Linked DNA regions of Homo sapiens: region 1 is linked to region 2. Evidence: promoter capture Hi-C in 16 types of primary human blood cells and fetal thymus (Javierre and others, 2016). All regions are on one chromosome and are shown on one strand. Each heading gives the region's core, a stretch centred on a gene start or on the middle of the fragment in contact. The rest is flanking DNA. Distances are from core to core; before and after follow the strand shown.

The links. The method cuts DNA at HindIII sites, captures the fragments that hold promoters and counts their contacts. A CHiCAGO score of 5 or more calls a contact.
Region 1: a contact is called between the fragment with the promoter of KAT2B here and the fragment with the promoter of TOP2B in region 2, in 5 of 17 cell types (total CD8 T cells, naive CD8 T cells, total CD4 T cells and 2 more). The highest score is 13.5, in total CD8 T cells.

What each region holds. Positions count from the first base shown.
Region 1 is chr3:20,039,093-20,041,935 of GRCh38, reverse strand. It overlaps KAT2B (lysine acetyltransferase 2B), which reads right to left and starts at 1,490. Exons shown (of 18, transcript NM_003884.5): 1 at 1,156-1,490. The coding sequence starts at 1,458. RefSeq lists enhancers at 1-178, 895-1,865 and silencers at 1,029-1,088, 1,289-1,418, 1,589-2,228. The HindIII fragment of the contact is 5,734 bases long and covers 1-2,843 here.
Region 2 is chr3:25,663,657-25,666,470 of GRCh38, reverse strand. TOP2B (DNA topoisomerase II beta) reads left to right here and starts at 1,564. Exons shown (of 36, transcript NM_001330700.2): 1 at 1,564-2,242. The coding sequence starts at 2,174. MIR4442 (microRNA 4442) reads left to right here and starts at 1,532; the gene lies at 1,532-1,598. RefSeq lists enhancers at 1,264-1,827, 2,785-2,814 and silencers at 1,995-2,354, 2,309-2,497. The HindIII fragment of the contact is 4,216 bases long and covers 919-2,814 here.

The DNA of each region.
Region 1 (2,843 bases), core at 241-2,740, 5.6 Mb after region 2:
CATTGTGACTGAGAAGCTCCTGCAAGTACCAAGAAGAGTATAACCTAGATGTTCTAGTAGAATAAATTATAGTTATGTCAAAATTCAGAAGTGGTCACTGCAGCTTGGTTGTGACAATCGGGAATCTGGAATCTGGGAACTTGACCCTCTTTACAGCAGGCAGGAAGAATACAGGGAGGTGTGAGTGTGTGTGAGTGTGTCTCTTCCCTGCCTCAGCCACAGGCCGCAGGAGCTGACAAGGCCAAGTCCCCGCCCCCCTCAGCTGTCACCCTGTCAAAACAAAGCCGCTGCTGACAGCGCAGGGCCAGCCTGCCCCGCGGCCTCGGGCAATCCTCCCACCTCGGGAACACAGCCTCCACATCTGGATCTGCAGCTGGAGGTGACAGGGTGCCTAAACTGGCATGGAGAGTGGGTAGCAAGAAATGGGTGTCCTCAAACTGAGCAGTAGCGCCCGCCGCGCTGGGCTGTCACTTTGCCAAATCCTGTTTACACCTCGAGCAGCTGGGACAGCGTTTTAACTAAACAAGTAATAATACAATAATGACAGGGCTGTCACCGCGCGCGGCAGTGCCTCCGCCCCCAGCCGAGGGCGCCAGGCACCACAAGACCCTCGCCTCGGACTCTGCCCACCTTCCCACCCCGCGCTTTCCTCCCCTTCGCTTTCCCAAAGCGCCAGGAGTCCGGGAGTCTTCTCCACCCCCACTCCTTGCACCCAGTTCCTCCCAGTGGGACACAGGAAGGGATCGATTGCAGAAGGGACCACTCAGTCCCCCAAAAGATTTTTCCTTGCCCCTGGGTCACCCGCCACATGGAGAGCACCGCTCCACTCCCGGGAAAGTGACTCCAGCGAGCTCCTACAGAGCAACAAAACCCCAAGGTAGCCCGGGAGCTCGGATGCCGAAGCTACTCCTTTCAAGCGGAAGGAATGAAGGGCTCTCCGTCTTAGTGATCCCCCTTCTTCAAACCCAGCAGGACTCTTATCCAAGAAGAAGCTAATTGGGCGCGGGCGACAAGAGCACTTCCGCGGTGCAGCGGCCCCAGGCGGGAGGCGAGAGGCAGGAGGCGGGAGGCGGAGGTGGAAGCGGGAGGGGGAGGGGGGTCCCGCGGGCTGGGCCCCTAGCACCCATCCGCGGTCCGAGAGCGGCGAGCGCGTACCTTGCAGGCGGAGTACACTCCGAGTTTCTCCAGTTTCTTGGCCCGCGGAGCGGAGCGTAGTTGCGCTTTCTTCACGGCGATTCGGGCCGAGCCACCGCCTCCCGGTCCTTCGGCCGTGCCCGCTGCAGCCACTGCCGTCGCCGGACCGCAGGCGCCCGAGCCCCCGGCGGCAGCGGCGCAGGGGGAGCCCTGCGGGGGCGCGGGCGGAAGCGCCGCAGGCTGCGGGGGCAGCGCCCCGGGCCCGGCCCCTGCCCCGGCTCCTGCCCCGCAGCCGCCCGGCCCGGCCCCGCCAGCCTCGGACATGCCGCCCCGGAGCACGGCAGGAGGCGCCGAGTGTCAGGCGCCGCCGCCGCCGCCAGGGTCTCCCTCTCGGGCTCTGGTAGTCGGGAGAGCGAGACCCTCCCCCCACGCCCTCCCGCCCCCTTCGCCCACCCCCCTCCCCGCCCCCGCCCTCCCCCTAGCGCGCCGCTCGCCCGGCTCGCTCTGGCCGGGCCCCGCGCGCTGATGGTGGTGGCGGCGGCGGCAGCGGCGGCAGCTGCTCCCCCAGGAGGGAGGGGACTAGCGGCTCCGCTGCCGCTGCCGCCGCCGCCACAGCACACGCCCTCCCTTGGTTCTCCTGCCCGGGACTCTGCTCCGCGCCCTGGCTGCGGACATGTTCCTCGGGACTGCGGACTAGGTGTGCGTGCCGGCGGCTGCCAGCCTCACGGTGTCTGCCAGCGCTGGGAGGCCCCCCACGGCCTCTTTTCCGCTGCCCGCGGGGTTTGCACCCCCCACCCCAGTGCTTCGACACCTACCGCTCGCCCGCCAGGGGGCGAGGCCAATCCCTGGGTGTGGGTGAGGGTGGGGACGAGGGTGGGGGTAGGGGCCTGGAGCCCAGGCACCTGCTGGCCACCTCCCCCCTCCGCGGCCCCCCATCCGACCCCCGCACGCCTGCACCAGTGGGAGGGGGCAGCCTCTCAATCATTTGTCCTTTCACTCTCTTCCACCCTGTCTCTGACAGAGAGACAACTTCCTCCACCCTAGCGGGAGCCAGAGGAAAAAAAATATATTTTTGAAAAGTACCCGTCCATGCTAATCTTTTTCTTTGTTGCTAATTCACCAAAATAAAGACGTGATGTTCTCCCTTTCTCTTTTTAAATACTTTCTGTCAAACTATTTTTTAATATAATTAACACTTTCTTCCCATAGCAATTTCTGGGTCAAATCTGCCGGAGGAGGGGAAAAAAACTTACTATTCTCTGTAATTTTTGTTTGAAAGTGCTGGTTGCTAAAAGAAAGATTGTCTAAAAAGCATTGTCAAAAACTATGCAGTGGAAAAAGTTTGAATACAAAAAGTTTGTTAACAGGATTCGTTTCTGGGTGGTGGTTCTATAACGTTACGTAGTTTTCAAAATTGTGCCACCGCGTGCGTATTAACCAGGAAAAAGATATAAGCATAATTCAAAAGAATAAATATCGATTTTGGCCTCAAACTTTAAAAAGAAAAAAAAAACCCTCAACTCAGTGTTTCCAACTCTTGTTGAAAACTGTTGTTTTCACTGTTGATGACTGTGGAGCATACAAGTCAGTGCTGCGTTTGAAAGTGGTGTACCGTTGATCGCCTTCTTAAGCAGGTTTTAAAAGCCCAGGGCTTTTTCTCAGGACCCTTCAGAAGTGCCCTACTTTTTGTTATATGCAATGTGGGTCAT
Region 2 (2,814 bases), core at 315-2,814:
ACAAAATACATGTGTACTTGGAGATGCAAACTCACAGTAAGAACACAAGATCATTTTAACAAGCACTAAACTGAGGCTCAGGGAAGTTAAATAACAAGGCTATGGATACTTGGTCAGGTTCAGAAAAGTTTGCACCCCAAGTTCAAGGTAAAGAAAGGCTTCACTGTTCTGAAGTCCCTAGTATGGCAAAGTTACATGGCCATCAGAGAGCTAATTAAAAAAACTATGTTTAAATTATTTCCATGTTTCAGAGTTCTCCACCTCTAGACTCAGAATGCAGTTTAAAGATGTGACCTGAGACATTTTTGTTTTCCCTTGAGAGGAAATGCACAGTTGGAAGTTCACAAAAACACCTCTTCAAAAAACAGTAATACTGTTTTCATCTTTATAAAAAGCTTTCATCACAACTCTTTGGTGGCACTTCATGCCTTCAAGTACTCATTTTGGTGATCGTTGGCTCCCTTTTAGTCTGTCTCACAAGCCAGGTTATAAATGGTTTGAAATCAGGGGCCTTGTTTTTACTTTGAACCCATCGCAGAGCCTGGCACAGCGTGGCAGAGTGTGCGCCCAATAAATACTTGAGTGGAATTACACTGAAAAACAGGAAGAAGTAAAGCCATCTTCCATCTGCCAAAGACTGTGATGTTGCTGTATTGGTAATTTTCATTCTTAGAAAGCTTTAATGTGAATGAAATTATTCCTTACTGTGCATTTGAAAATTCCACTGAAAACAGTTTTAAAAATTAAGCATGCCCTCTTAGAGGCAGGGGGCACAGTTCTGGACAGATGAGAAAAGTGACAGTGACATCTCTGCATTGTTCAGAGAAGAAAGGTCAACAAAGAGTAGAAATAGAACACTCAACCCACCCTGCATTCTTTCCCTAGAACATTCTCTGTGTGTCCCTTATCATTTAAGCTTTTCATATGTAGTTTTCTTGAAACTGACCATATGCTCTTTTGGGGTGAGGGGAGGAGACGGAAGAAGGAGATGGAGAAGGTCTGAGATGATTTTTTTCGACAGCAGCGTCCACTTAGGCCCTTGGGGAGGCCGGGTCACGGGGCCTCCTTGCACCAGTGGTCTACAACGTCTTGCCTGCGGTTTACAACCGCTCTTTTAAAATAATTTCCCTTTGGGACGGCCCCCGGCTTCTTCCTGCCACCCCCATCCCCACCCCGCCCCCATCCTCATCCTTAGAGGCCCCAGGCAAACGCTTCGGATTCCCGGTTAGGTCTCAGAGTAAACAGCACGCTTGGAGGATTACAATCGACCCGAGGCCAATTCGACCCTTTCCCTTTGCCGCCCTCAATTGACCCTTGAAGCAGCCCCTGCTCTCCCTTCAAATGGAAAACCCACAGACACACACACAAACAAAAACCCCAAGTCTTCCTTTCGGTTGCTACCCGCAATGACGTTTCCCCCCTCGGGTCCCGCCCCTCCAGGGGGCTTGGAATTTTGGGATTGGCCGAGAGGCTGTGGCGACAAGGCCCGGATTGGACAGCATGGCGCTGACTGACAGCGGGGGCGGCCGCCGCGCCCTCCCTCTCTCCCCGGTGTGCAAATGTGTGTGTGCGGTGTTATGCCGGACAAGAGGGAGGTGACCGTGGCGGCGGCGGCGGCGGCTCTGTTTATTGTCCCTCTCGGTGTGTGTGTGTGAGGAAATCGGGGCTGCAGCGAGGCTAAGGCTGCCTTTGAAGCAGCGGCGGCGACCGGGACGACTACTCTGGCGACTCGAGTGGCTGGCCTTCGCGGAGTGTGAGAAGGACAAGGCACCTCTGCGTCCTCGCCACGTCCGAGCGCCTCGGGCTCCCCGGCCGCCCTCGCGGCTCGCACGCCCGGGCTTCAGCCCGGCCTGCAGCGGCGCCCGCGGGCGGGCGAGAAGGCAACGCCGCCGCTCGGCCGCCGCCGGTCGCTCCCTGCTTTCTCCTCAGCCGCCGCGCTAGGCCCGGGCGACGCGGACGCCGCGCCTCGAGTTTGAGGGCAGCCGGCGGCGCGGCCTCCTCAGCGGGCTCGGCTGGACGTCCGCTCCGGATCTTCGCGATGGGGCGCGGGGGTCGGCGCGGCTAGGAGTGCGGCGAGTGGAGCGGTGGGTGCGGAGCGGCGGGGCCCAGCGGCCCGCAGGGAGGCGGGAGCGGCGGCTGCGGCCTCAGGGCCTGTGAGCTGGAGGCACTCGCCATGGCCAAGTCGGGTGGCTGCGGCGCGGGAGCCGGCGTGGGCGGCGGCAACGGGGCACTGACCTGGGTGGTAAGTGGCTGGTCCCCGGGACGGGCGGCTGCATTGTTCCGGGCCCGCGGCGGGGGCGGAATTCCGAACGGGCGGGGGAGGGGAAAGGGAGGGAAATCCCGTCCCCCGAACGGGCGCTCCATAGGGGCCTGTGCTTGCAGAATCCTCCAGCCCGCTCCCCGCGCCTTTTCTTTCTTTCTTTCTCTGTACGTCTCTGGAAGTCCTGACTGCCAGAGCGTAATGTGTACTTGAAACTTTGGGGGGACAAAACCGCGAACGTAACATACAGCCCCCGCTTCCTCTCTTTTCTTTTTAACCAGACTCTTCCGGGGCAGCCGAACCTGAAATGGTGGGGATGGCGATAATGCAAGTGTGTCTGTGTGGGGCAGCATTTTCTCCAAATGTAGTTCAAGAAAACCCTGGGAAAAGGGGTGTGTGTGTGTGTGTATTCTAAATGCAGCTCTTTCTGGGGCTTTAATCTCAAAGAAGAATGCATTGGGATTTCTACAGCAACTTGCACTTCAATTTGGAAAGCCTCATTCAATGCGCTCAATTGAGAGCGCATTGGGGATGACTTTCACAGCAGTTAATAC